2 separate regions of the Homo sapiens genome follow, and region 2 is linked to region 1. Evidence: promoter capture Hi-C in human tissues and cell types (Jung and others, 2019). All regions are on one chromosome and are shown on one strand. The core of a region is centred on a gene start or on the middle of the fragment in contact, and the rest is flanking DNA. Distances in the headings are between cores, read along the strand shown. Region 1 holds the start of KLHDC7A (kelch domain containing 7A). Region 2 has its middle 48 kb from the start of KLHDC7A.

The links. Contacts are between HindIII fragments. The study calls those that stand out against the background at their distance.
Region 2: a contact is called between a fragment that was not itself captured here and the fragment with the promoter of KLHDC7A in region 1, in 1 of the 25 tissues and cell types used here (pancreas).

What each region holds. Positions count from the first base shown.
Region 1 is chr1:18,476,655-18,483,444 of GRCh38, reverse strand. KLHDC7A (kelch domain containing 7A) reads right to left here and starts at 2,515. Exons shown (of 1, transcript NM_152375.3): 1 at 1-2,515. The coding sequence starts at 2,463. The coding sequence ends at 130. RefSeq lists enhancers at 1,693-2,564, 2,565-3,437. The HindIII fragment of the contact is 16,937 bases long and covers 1-6,790 here.
Region 2 is chr1:18,525,743-18,532,532 of GRCh38, reverse strand. No RefSeq gene overlaps it. Among named protein-coding and RNA genes, the nearest start is that of KLHDC7A, 48 kb to the right of the region's middle. The HindIII fragment of the contact is 3,693 bases long and covers 2,170-5,862 here.

The DNA of each region.
Region 1 (6,790 bases), core at 1,266-3,765:
ACCGGAATTCACCTCTTGATGGCCACATTCCTGGGTTGCCTGTTTGCCTAGAAATGGCCCCCAGAGGGACGGCTGGCAGTGGAGCCCGGTGGCCCCCAGCTTTGCATGAGGAGCTCAGTTGAGGGACTGCTAGACCCTGGTCTGAGGCAAATCGGGGGTGGGCAAGGTCAGGACGGTGGGCAGGAGGGTGCCCTGCGGGGCCGGGAAACTCCGCAGCTCCTTGGGCACAAACCTGGGTGAGACAGAGTCTGCTAGGAAGCAGAGGGTGCTCCGGCGTCCCACGCAGTAGATGAGGTTGTCCACCACGGCGCACTGGAAGGCATCCGGGTAAGGCGTCCGGTACGTGGCGCACTCGTACCAGAGCCGGGTGCTGGCGCTGCAGCGGTACACGGCGATGCCCAGGCTGCGGTTGAGGTCAAAGCGGTAGAGAAAGCCGTTGACCGCCACCATCTCGGCCGTGCGGTCCTTGCTGCCCCCGGTGGGGCCGGCCCACCAGCGCTGCTCCTGCGCAGAGAAGCGGAACAGCAGGAAGCGCAGCGAGCCGCCGGTGACGAAGATTTCCTTGGCACGCACCGTGGCCGTGTGCGCCAGGGCGAACGTGTCACTGGGGAGCGGCGGGGCAAAGTCCCAGCGGTCCAGGCGGGGGTCGTAACGCTCCACCGAGTTCAGACACTCTCCGCCGATGGCATACAGGTGCCCGTCCAGGGCCACCAGCCGGCAGTGCGGCCGGGCCTGGTTCAGCGGGCACACCTCGCTCCAGATCCCCGTGAGCGGGTTGTAGCAGAAGACGCGGCTGGAGGGCTGGTGCCCGGGCCCCTGGCAGCCGGACACCACGAAGAGATAATTGAAGAGACTGCAGATGGCACAGCCCCGGGACACGGCCTCGGGGGGCATGCGAGCCAGCGGGCGCCAGACATCCTGCTCATCGTCATAGCAACAGAGGCCGCCGGAGTCTTCCTTGGGGCACACGTCAGCCACCACCAGGTACTGGCGGCCCCGGAGCCGGCGCTGCAGGATCAGCTCGCGCTCTGCCCCGCTCAGGCACCCGTAGATGTCCGGGCTGCGCAGCACCTGCAGGTAGTTTTCGCTCATCACCTTGTAGGCCGCCTCTTTCAGGGCCTCCAGGTTCTGCCTCTTGGCCAAGGTCAGCACCTCATAGCAATTGCCCAGATCCAGGCGGACCTGTGGGGCTGAAGCAGGGGTGAGCGGGATATGGAAGAAATTGGTCCCGGCCACCGGCTGCACATGGGGCTCCCGGCTGCTTCTGCCTAAGCCAGGCAGGGCGCCCGGGTCTGGGCAGGGTGGAGCGGGGAGCCGGAAGCCATCTGGCTGCAGCTGCAGCTCTGGGTTCTCCGCTATCTGCAGAAGGCTCTCCTTCCGGCTGAAGCCTCGGGTGGAGGGCCACGGCCCTGTCTGCGGGGAGGCGGCTCTTTCGGCTGCACCCTTTGTGTCACCGGCTTGGCCTCCCGAGGCAGCCCCTGTTCCCAGGGACCCTGGCGGTGGCCTAGGGGATGGAACCTCAGTCAGGGCTGCTGTCCTGGGAGCCAGCCTGCCCTGGAAGATGGCCTGAGAGGTAGATTCCACATAGTAGTCGTACACCTTGCCCTTGAGCCGGGGCTCAACCCCCTCCGCCTTCTGTATGAAATGCTCCTCCATTCGGACGCGGGCTATGGATGAGAAGGTATAGGAGGAGTTGGGGGCGCCCTCCTGCTGATGCAGGGTCAGGTCAACATCGGAGGCAGCCTCGAGAGCCCCAGCCTCTTCTCTGCTGACCCCTATCACACGGGTGAAGACCCAGCTCTGGTTCATGTCACTGCTGCCTTGCAAGGGAGCCACGTAGTGACAGTGGGGAGGTTCTAGTTGCCCCAGTCCTGGATGCTCACGGGGTTTACTGTCCTGCCATGGAGAAGGCTCACCACCGGCACAGCTGCCGTCGGCTGCTGCAATGAGTCCAGCTGGGGAGCTCTTCGGTTCGCTGCCCAAGCGGGGGAAATGGGGAGGGTCAGGGTTACTGCCAACAGCTGTTCTGGTTTCCTGGCTGGGGCAGCAAGGAGGCACCTGCTCAGAGTCCGAGCCCTGCCCGCCCCGCTCCTCACCTGAGCCTTTTCTCTGGGGCTTCCTGTCTGTGGAAGTGGCCCCCGTGACCAGGACATAGGGGCCTCTTGGATTCTCACAGCTGCAGCCCTGTGGTGCTTCAGCCCGCTTGCTGCTCCTCCGACGTCTTGGCCCCCTCAGGAGCACCCCAGGAGAAGCCTCCTGTACAGCAGGCTGCCCTGAGCCCTCTGCTTCCTCCTTGGCTTCTGCCTGGCCATTCCCACCCCACCGCTGGGCTGGGGCAGGCCTCGACTTGTACAGCCTGTAGGCCACAGTCACCAGGAGCAGGGCAGCGGCTGACAGCACCACCTTGCCGGTCAGCTGCATATCCAAATGCCAGTCCTGGGCCTCTGCTCCTCTGGGGAACATGCTTCTCCAGCCAACCTGGGGCTGAGGAATGTCAAGAATCTGATTAATAATTGCCCAGTAGGGACCAGTTCCTGGGTCCTGCTGAGCGGAGGGGAGGGAGTTCTGGGCTGGTTCTGGCTGGCCAGCCGAGGAGAGGAGAGGAGCAAAGGTGACTTTGAGCTGCAGAGGGTGGCCGCTGGGGCCCAGAGCTGGCAGATCCCAGCGGCTGGCCTCCTTCCATGCTTCCCTGGTGGCTGGGGTGGGGGGCCCGCCCAGGGGCTGAGCTTGTGATCAGCCACCTAAGCCAGCTCTGTGGTCAGCAGCTAGGGGATGTTAGGAGTATCCAGTGGGCATACAAAAGAGGAGGAAGCTCTTAACCAAACAGTCACCCGATGCCAGGAAATGCATGGGGTTGGTTATTCTTTATGTGTGTGCTTTATTTTCTCTTTTGCAAGTCCACTGGGCTCAGAGGCTTGGGTGTGGTGAGTCATGGGCAGGTGGAGCCCCAGTAGGCGTGGATGGGGTCATTCTTGTGAGGTCTGCTGGTCCTCACAGTGGGGTCAACTTTATGCTGGCCAAGCAGGGAACGGGAACATGGCAGTGGAGTCTGGAGCCAGGGCATGCAGCCAAGCCACCTGAGCCGGCCCTTGAGTGCCTCTGCCCTCCTTCCCTGCCTGACAAGTTTATTAAGAAAAACCAGCCTTTCTGAGAACAGTGGAGAAAGACATTGCATTAGTGCTCAGATCGGGGTTAGATGTGGACACATCTTCTCTTTTAAAACCAGACAATCTCCTACGGTGAAAGATTGAGGGAAGACTCACGTCTCCCAGACCCCCCCTCACCATTTCCCCTCCCCCATCACCAGTGCTGTGGGTCCTGGACCCAGACTACCTGGCTCTGCTACTTACCAACTATATGACCTTAGGCAAGAGACCTCACCGCTCTGTGCTTTGTCTGAAAAAGGAGGATGACAGCATACGCACCTCATCAGCTTGTGGGGAGAACTAAATGGGCTACTAGGAATAAACACTGGGGCAGAGCCCCCATCATGAAAGCTTAGTAAATATGAACTATTCTCTGCTTCTTCCTCCTTTTCCTCTTTCTGATCATCGGCACCATCATCGCTAGTATCAATTGTCATCAGAGGACCTTCCAAAGCACAGAACTAATTCTACCCTTCTCCTGACCAAGGTCCTCAAAGAGTCCCCAAAGTCCTGTGCAGGGGTCTCAAACTCTTGCTGCATATGGAGGCTGGGTAGGTAAAGTGAACAAGTAAGGACGTCTGTCCGCCCCACCCCAGCCGATGGTATCAGGCCCAGCATTGCCTCATCCTCCCACTGTCGCAAAAAGCTTAGAATCCCAGTAGTGACATAATCACTCTCAATTTTAAAATGTTGGCATCTGATTCAAAAATGAAACTGAAAAACACTGTGGGCCACAGGAAGCACACGCATGGGAGGAATTTGGCTCTGAAGGCTTTGACTCTAGGAGACAATCCTGACTCCCTATGCCGACGTTCACAACTCTCTGTGTACCAGCTTCGGTTTACTCTTCCAGATGCATCTCCTGATCACTGCCTAGCAAACCGGGCTCAGGGTGACTTCTTGGCAGGGAAGGCTGGTGGACATCCCTCTGGCCCATCAGAGTTGGGTAAAAGGCTGTGTCTGGGCCTTCTTCCCTGGTGCCTTCATCCGTCCAAGATCACCTTTTCTTCCTTTGGGTCTCGTGTTCTCTGATGCTCCTCTTTTAGGCTTGGCCACAGCTGCTGCATCGTAAAGTGCATTGTGTGCAAGATCTGGTCTGCTGCATTCTAAGTCCTTGAGGACAGAGGCTGTAGCTGGCTCAGCTGTGGACCCTAAGCCTATGTGGGGCCCTGCACCATTTGGGACAATAGCCAGCAGGGATTGTCTTTACACTGAGTGGATTGGGGTGAACACTCGGGATGAAGCTCATCTCATCTCGTCTCATGCTCACAGCCCCTTTGGGGAGAGACACGATTGTTATCCCCATTTGACAGCAGCGGTAACTGGACCTCCAAGATTATGTCAACTGGCTTGTAAATGGGGACTCAAAACCTTGTTTGCAGAGTCCAGAGTTTTACAGACCTGACTTCATCCAGCAGGTGTGACCTCTTAGAAAGTCAGGTGTCCTCAGCCTGTCCCACTGGTAGCTGTCAAGAGGGGTCCCCTGAATTCTCTTTCTTTCCATCCTGGTCAAAAGAGTGCCTATCAATGCAATGTGCACAAGGATCACAAGGGGTGCTTGTTAGAGATGCAGCTTGCCTGCCTGCCTGCCTGCCTGCCTGCCTGCCTGCCTGCCTGCCTGCCTGCCTTCCTTCCTTCCTTCCTTCCTTCCTTCCTTCCTCCCTCCCTCCCTTCTTTCCTCCCTCCCTTCTTTCCTCCCTCCCTCCCTCCCTTCCCTTCCCTCCCTCCCTCCCTTCCTTCCTTCCCTCCTTCTTAACTCTCTCTCTCTCTCTCCCTTTCTCCCTTTCTTTCTTTTTCTCTTTCTTTTTTGAGACAGAGTGTCACCCAGGCTGGAGTGCAATGGCACAATCTCAGCTCACTGCAACCTCTGTCTCCAGGGTTCAAACGATTCTCCTGCCTTAGCCTCCCGAGTAGGTGGGATTACAGGCATGCACCACCACGCCCAGCTAATTTTTGTATTTTTAGTAGAGACGGGGTTTCACCATGTTGACCAGGCTGGGTTTTTTTTTTTTTTTTGAGATGAAGTCTCACTCTGTCACCCAGGCTAGAGTGCAGTGGCATGATCTTGGCTCGCTGCAACCTCCGCTTCCCAGGTTCAAGCAATTCTCCTGTCTCAGCCTCCTGAGTAGCTGGGACTATAGGTGCACACCACCACGCCTGGCTAATTTTTGTATTTTCAGCAGTGATGGGGTTTCACTATATTAGTCAGGCTGGTTTCGAACTCCTGACCTCGGGTGATCCACCCGCCTTGGCGTCCCAAAGTGCTGGGATTACAGATGTGAGCCACCACGCCAAGCCAGGGATGCAAATTTCTAAGCTCTACCTTTTAGATGTCCTGATTCAGTGGGCTGGGTGGGTCCCAGGAAACCTCCATTTTTAACAATCATCTCAGGAGTTTTTAGTGAGCCTAGGAATTAAAAATAAGTTAGCTTTTCTACTTGTCTGCTGAAAATTCCTGTTCATTCTTGGATGGTGGGTGAGCAGTTCCTCTCAAGTTACATAATCAATTCCTCTTGGTTACATACTCAAGGTGAGTAACAGAATGGGAATGAAGTCCTGGGTGCTTTGTATAAGTAAAATTATTTAATTTTCCCAGTAATCTGGAGAGGTGGTTATTATCATTGTCCCCATTTTACAGATCAGGACATCGAGGCTAAGAGAGACAATGCCAATGGACTGAGAGTGACAAATCCTGATTTATAATGTTTCTTGCTGCACAGCCCATTGTCTTCATCTAGAAACTAGAGAATGAGGTGTTTGGGGCAATAAAAATGATTTTTCCAGGGGTGAAAAATGCTTTGTTGAGGCTGATGAGGGGCCAGGCTACCATTCCACTGGTAGGGGTATGAAGCTCATCTCATCCCATCTCATGCTCACAGCCCCTTTGGGGAGAGACATGTTTGTTATCCCCATTTGACAGCAGGGGTAACTGGACCTCCAAGATTATGTCAACTGGCTTGTAAATGGGGACCCAAAACCTTGTTTGCAGAGTCCAGAGTTTTACAGACCTGACTTCATCCAGCAGGTGTGACCTCTTAGGAAGTAGGTGTCCTCAGCCTGTCCCACTGGTGGCTGTCATATGTTCATATGTCATATGTCTTTACCCTTGGAGAAGGGGAGACATATGAAATGCCCCCTTGGTGAGATGTGACCTCACATTGTCCTCTCAGATGCCACCAAGTTAGAAGGGTCTCAGCCCCTCTGAATGCTGCTTCCCACCTGATAAAGGCTCCATCGTGTCCCAGAGCCCTCTCTCTGTGGCTCCAGCTTAAACCCTTCAATTCAAACAATCAGCATTTCCATTTGAAAAGCTCCTGGGCACTGGATGTGCCCGAACCAGCCTTGGGGTGTGGGGAGGTGCAAGGATCACTGGGAGCAGAAGACAGTCCAAGTCCCAGGGGAACTTATTTTGTCCCTGGTCCAGAAGACGGGGCATAAGCCTGAGATATGATCAAGCTGCCATGCATCGCAAAGGAGAGATGAATGAGGTGGTTTATCAGAATAGAGGTCAGGAAAAAGGATTCCAGAAAGAAGTGTTTGGAATTGGGTATTGATAAAGAGAGGAAGAGGCATAGACTGATTGATTGATTGATTCAAAAAATATTTACAAGATGCTTACCACCTACCAGGCCATGTGTTGTGAT
Region 2 (6,790 bases), core at 2,767-5,266, 48 kb before region 1:
CTGTGAGCTCTCATTGCTCCCCAGTAACCTCAGCCCCACTTGGGTTTTCATTTTGGAAAAGTCAACTTTCTCTAAATAGCTTCCTGGAGAAGATTGAGGGGAGGGCAGGGCTGGACTAGCCATGTGACTTTGGGCAAATAACTTAGCTTCTCTGAGCTTGGGTTTCATCATCTGTGAGCCTCACCTTAGGTCTTTTTGGCTGCTGTAACACATTACTGCAAACTTAGTGACTTAAAACAACGCACATTTATTCTTCCAAAGTTCTGGAGGCCGGAAGTCCAAATCGGCTACCAATGGGCTGAAATCAAGGTGTGTGCAGGGCTGTGCTCCTTCCAGAAGCTCGAGGGGAGAATTTGCTTCTTGCATCTTCTGGCTTCAGGTGGCTGTGGCACTTCTTGTCTTGTGGCTTTGTCACTCCAGTCTGCAAGGCCAGTGTCTTCCAATCTCTCTCTGCCCTGTCTTCACATCACCTTCTCCTCTGTGTCTCAAGTCTCCCTCTGCCTCCCTCTTATAAGGATACATTTGATGGCTTTTAAGGTCCACCGAATAATCCAGGATAATCTGCCCATCTCAAGATCCTTCACCTAATCACGTCTGCTAAGACCCTTTTCCAAGTACAGTAATATTTACAGGTTCCAGGGATTAGGACCTGATATCTTTAGCAGCCATCATTTGGTCTGTGACAAGCCTCTAATCTATTCATTCAACAACATTCAACAAATATTATCAAGGGCTAATCAACTGCTTGTTATGGAAAGGGTGTAAGTGCAGACAGTGAGGCCAGCCTGAGGGGCTCCCATCCTCCCAGCTGGGATGAGGGCCTCAAAGGGGAGGTGTGGGGCACTAGGAAAGCTTAAGCAGGATTTGACTAGTGACGGGGGTCAGAGAAGGCTCCCCAGAGGAGGTGATGGCTAGGAAAAGCTGATGGATGAGCAGAATGGCATGAAGGAGCGTCCTAGGCACAGTGAAGGAGGAGGTGGCCAGTGAGGCTGGAGAAGAGCCAATAGGGCTGTGATTTGCAGTGCAATCGGAGAGGTGGACAGGAGCCAATTTGTTCTCCACTCTGAGGGCTGTGGTCTCCATCTTAAGAATAAGGGGAAGCCAGTGAGGGGTTTTAATCAGGATTGCTGAAGTCAGATGTGTTTTATGTCTTGACAAGATTATTCTGGCTTCAGAGTGAAGGGTGTGTTAGAGGAACCAGAGTTGATGTGAGGAACCAGGGTGAGAAGTTCTTGGAGGGGCTCACACAAGAGGAGGTGGCCAGTCAAGGGAGGGAGGTGCAGATGCAGTAAAGAGAAGTGAGGGCTTCAGGAACTGTTTAGGAGGTAAGGCTGGCAGCACTTGATAGTAGGTGTTTTATGGGCATGACAGAGATAAGGATGATTCATCAGGTCTGGCCTGAGCCACCGGATGGTGGCGACATTCGCTAAGCCCCAAAGCACAGGAAAGAGACTGGATGAGTGGATGGGGAGATTATGAGGGGTCAACTTAGACACAGTGAGTTCGGTGTGACTTTGAGACATCTAAGTAACCAGTAATTTCTGGAAGAACCTGGGTTCCAAGTAGATGTTGGAGCTGGAAATTTGAACCTCATAGATGTGGGATTAGGTAAGTTAAGACACATAGAGTACTTGGCACAATGCCTGGAACCTAGGAGGCTTCAAAAGAGGGTAGCCCACCCCTTCTTATCTTAAGAGTAAGAACTTCTAGGAGCCCAGGGGAAGGGACATCGCTGGTCGAGAAGGTGGCTTGTCTGGGCCTTGGGGACCATTGCCCATCTGTGTTCAAAGATAAGCAACTGTGCCATCAGGGGTGGGTGAATGGCAGGCCCCCCCACTGATGGTGGAGCCCTAGGAATCTGTTTAATGAATACACTTGTCCTTGCCTTGGCCACCAGGAAGCTCAAACTCAGCAAGCTACCCAACCAAAGCAAACTGTACAGGATATTTTGAAGCTGAATAAAACTCCTTGCATTATTTTATTTCCTACCTTTGCTTTTCTTTGTCCTGACTCTACATCTATTTATTGTAATTGTTACATGTATTTTGAAACTTGCACAAGCCTTTTTTTTAGTGGAATGAGACAGGGTATATATAAACAAATCAACAAAATCAATAGGACAAACATTTGTGGATTGATTTAAAAATAGAATCCTTCTATAATGCACTGGCATTGAAAAAGAGTTTGCTGTTTGGTGACTTTTTTGGTCCATCTTCCTGAAAGGGAAACAGTTGTTCCTTAATTTATCTGCTGGGTGGTTCTGGATTTTGGTTCAGTGCTTAGCAAATTAGCCAGGTGTGGTTTGAGGAGAGATATTAAAAGATCCCATAAAGGGCATACATAAGTTGTGAAAATGCATTATGGATACCAGACCAGGCAGGGGTGAGAGCAGACAGTGAGGAGGGAGTGTGGAAAACTGCCTGGTGGGTTGGATGATCTCCATGTATCTAATTAACTGGGGAAGGTTTTGCAGAAACCGAGGCTGGGTTCAGGCTGGGGCTGGAATCAGGGTTAGGTCTTTGGGGATTGAGTCTATGGGTCTGCTGTCAATCAGCCAGGGGAGTGGAGAGAACTGACCGGCTTTCCCGCATGGTGCATGGTTGGACTGCTGTCAGCCCGCTCCATAGCTGTGTCAGTGAACAAAAGCTGACTGCTGGTCTCTCCAGCCTCACCACTGTTGGCTGCCCTGGGTGGACCTTGCTGCCAGGTGCCCAGGCCTTTGCAGGAGCTGCTGTTCAGCAGGGAACACTCTCCAGCATGGTGTGGAGGTTGAGAGCCCAGAGGCCAGAACCAGATGCTGGCTTCACTGTCTACTATTTCAATGATATTGGACAAGCTCTTTAACCTTTCTGTGCCTCAGTTTCCTATCTCTAAAATGGAGATGATAGGCATACCTACTATATTAGTCCATTTTCACACTGCTGATAAAGACATACCCAAGACTGGGTAATTTATAAAGAAAAAGAAGTTTAACGGACTTACAGTTCCGTGTGGCTGGGGAGGACTCACAATCATGGTGGAAGGAGAAAGACATGTCTTACATGGCAGCAGGTAAGAGAGAGAATGAGAGACAAGTGAAAGGGGTTTCCCCTTACAAAACTGTCAGATCTTGTGAGAGTTAGTCACTGCCGTGAGAACAGTATGGGGGAACTGCCCCCAAGGTTCAATTGTCTCCCACTGGGTTTCTCCCCCAGCACGTTGGAATTATGGGAGCTACAATTCAAGATGAGATTTGGGTGGGGACGCAGCCAAATCCTATCACCTACCTTACTGGGTTGTTTCTGAATCCTGGTGAATTAACTTCAGTGGAGTGTTTAGACAGGCGCCTGCCACAGTAAGTGTTTGCTGTTATTATTATCACCTCTCCCAAATGCTTCACCTGGCTGGGCTCTGTTCATGAGCCAGTGTGCGGTATCTTGCAGTATCTCACTGTAGACTCCCCTAACCATCATTTCTCCAAGGCTGGGTGAGATGTCTTCCTCTAAGCTTCTGCAGGCAGCCTTGCAAACATTGGTCTTTTGTGTTCTTTCCTAGATCTTGAGCCCTTCAGGGGCTGAGGTTGAATCTGGTACAACATCTCTGCCTGTATCTGGTGCCCAGCCTAGAAGCTGGTGTAGATGAGGGGCCAGGAAAGGGATGGAGGATCCTGCAGCATGGCCTGGGAATTCAGGACTTCAACGACAATGAAGAAGAAATACTGCCAAGAGCTGAGGTACCACTGGCATCACTTGGGCCTGTGCCATTCTGCCCACATCCCCTTGGAAGTACAGAATGGAGTACAGAATCCCCCTCCTATCTGGACTAGGCAGGGAGTTGAGGTGTGATGAGGCCTTGCCAGCCGCTCTTCATGGTGGGAATACATTCAAATCCAGCCTCACCTGGATATCCCCCAGGTAAGCAAATGGCATCTGCCAAACAGAGTCCTTGAGCAGGGAAGATGCCTTGTAACCCATCTCAGGGAGGCAGTGTAACGTAATGGTGAGAACACAGGCTCCAGAGTTGGGGCCTGGGGTTCAAATGTATTACCTCCCTGTGCCTCTGTTTCTTCAACTGATAATGGAGTTAATCATCATGCCTATCTCCTAGATTTTTTATTTTTGAGACAGGGTCTTGGTCTGTCACTCACGATGGCATGCAGTGGCATGATCATGCTCACTGCATCCTCAACGTCCCAGACCCAAGTGATCCTCCTGCCTCAACCTCCCAAGTAGCTGGGACTACAGGTCCACACCACCATGCCCAGCTTATTTTATTTTATTTTTTATAAAGAGGAGGTCTCACAATGTTGCCCACATTGGTCTGAAATTCCTGGCCTCAAGCAATCCTCCCGCCCAGGCCTCCCAAAGTCCTGGGATTACAGGCATGAGCCACCACACCTGGCCTCATTCCATGTTTTTCATGGTGGCTTTCCAAAGGAACTGAAGCTCTGCATGATGGTGACTCATCCCTTTGCCCCCACCACCCCCCCCCCCCCCCCCGCCCAGTGGTGAGATAGATCAGACCCGCTTGCTAAGGTGCTGTGTGGGAAAGCTGTTGTAAGTGCGTAGATGCATTGGCCACCCCCTTCTCTGTGTTGTTTTAGTGCCATCTCCACTCCTGTCCCATTACGCTGTGATTTTGTGTTTTGTTGTCTATCTCTTTTGCTGGGTTGTGAGTCCTGAGACTTGGCAGTGTGTTAATTGAGGGTGTGGCCAGTGTGCCATGTGCCACCCCTTCTTAGGTCATTATCATCAGCTCTCATCCATTGAATGACTATGTGTCCCGTGCCTGATGTGTGTTAAGTCTTCATGACCACTCTGCAATGACAAAAGTGAGGCACAGAGAGGTGAAGCGGCTTGCCTGAGGTCACACAGCTTGAAAATGGTGAGATTTGAAGATAATCCGGTCTGATTCTAAAGCTCATGCCCTTTCTACTATGCCATCCTGGTCCAATGCCTGCTGCAGTGTTTGATACGTAGCAGGCACATGGGAATGAATTGATGTGTGTTGAATGCACAGATTTAGTGTGTCAGACACTGAGAACAGAAAGAAGACTAGGACACAGATCAGCGGTTTTACAGTCCAATAGGCTTGAATGTGTTGGCCATCCAGAAGCTTCCAGAATCCTGTGGGACACTTATTTCAGGAGGATGCTGTGGTACACCGTCTTGGTTGCTTGCCCCAAAGCTATCACCATCTTTTCTCTTTGATAGCAGAACTTCCCTGCCTGTCTAGTTCTGGCTAATGGGTGTAAGGGGAAATCAGCTGGGAGAGGGAGCTTCCTCCTTCATAAGAGAGAAACAAGTCAGGGGAAAATCTGCATCTTGTAAGCCCCTATGTGCTGGCTTTAACATGGCCATAGGGAGAATACTATCCCTGAACTGTGACTGCAATCTTGTGATCCTGAGATAAAGGTCAGAGAATTGCAAAGGCCGCCTGTGCCCTGATAATCAGTGAACCACTGACCTAGTCCTAAAACATCTTACCTCCAGACTTCTAAGAAAATACATGACCATGAATGAGAAAAATGCACCTTGGTGGGTTTCGGCCACTGTTACCTGGGGATTATGTTAGTTGCAGCTGAAAGCATTCCCAACAGATACAGAAGCTGATTGCAAGTGGGAAGAGCAAGGAACCTGGCATCAGAAGACCTGGCTGGGACACTCATCTCTGTCGTGAACCAGCAGGACCCTTTCTGGACTAGTCACTAACTGATGTGCAGCTCAGTTTCCTGATATGTGAGATAGGGCTTCCTCTGTGGCTGAAGTGAGATGTAGGGGGCATTTCTAACCCCAGGATCCCCTTGCTCAACACAAGAGAAGTCTCTTTGATTATTCTCTGATAAGCACTTAGTGTGGACAGAGAATCCTCTCCAACATGTAAGGTGAATCATGTAGAGGGGTTCTTAAAAAGTAAAAGGCCCCATGAGAGCCACAGCTGGTGCCTTCCTCCTGGGGCAGAGCTGGGTGGGGGAGTCTAGTCATGAAGGCCACAGGTAGCATGGCTGCACTGGAGCTCGGAGGAGCCAAGGGCTTGGGCGGAAAGTCAAGTTAGGAGACATGTAAGAAACAGTGGCTAATGCTAAATGACGAGTTAATGGGTGCAGCACACCAGCATGGCACATGTATACATATGTAACTAACCTGCACATTGTGCACATGTACCCTAAAACTTAAAGTATAATAATAATAAAATAAAAAAAACAGATTGAAAAAAAGAAACAGTGGAAAAGTAAGGATTTGGAGGACAGGCAGGAAGGTCAAAAGCAGAAAAGCAAAAAGTTGGAAATGGGTAAAGGCAGTGGTTCTCAAAGTGTGGTCCCCAAGGTGCTGTATCAGCATCAACTGGGAACATGCTAGGAATGCAGGTCCTTGGGACACCCAGACCTGCTGGACCAGAAACCCTGAGGCTGGGGCCCTGCAGTCAGCATTTTAACAGGCTTTCCGGGTGATTCTGATGCACACTAAAGTTTGGGAACAACTGGGATTGTTCAAACTTGGTCTGGGAACAATAGGTAGGTACCCAAGAGTCCCCTTGGCAAAGTGCCTGACCTCTGCTGGGGAAATGCAAGGAAGAGATTTCAGGGATCTATATCAAGACATTTGTGGAAAGTATTAATAAGTTCATTTGTAGAATGAGGGCACAGAAAGCTTCACATTCCTGCTTTCTTTTTGCTTTGCAGGGAGCTGAGCCTTAGGTTTTGTGACAGAATTTGAGGCAGTGAATGCTGACCCAGCTTTGTAAGAAAGAATAGGAGAAAGGTATGTGTGTGTGTGTGTGTGTGTGTGTGTGTGTGTGTGTGTGTGTGTGT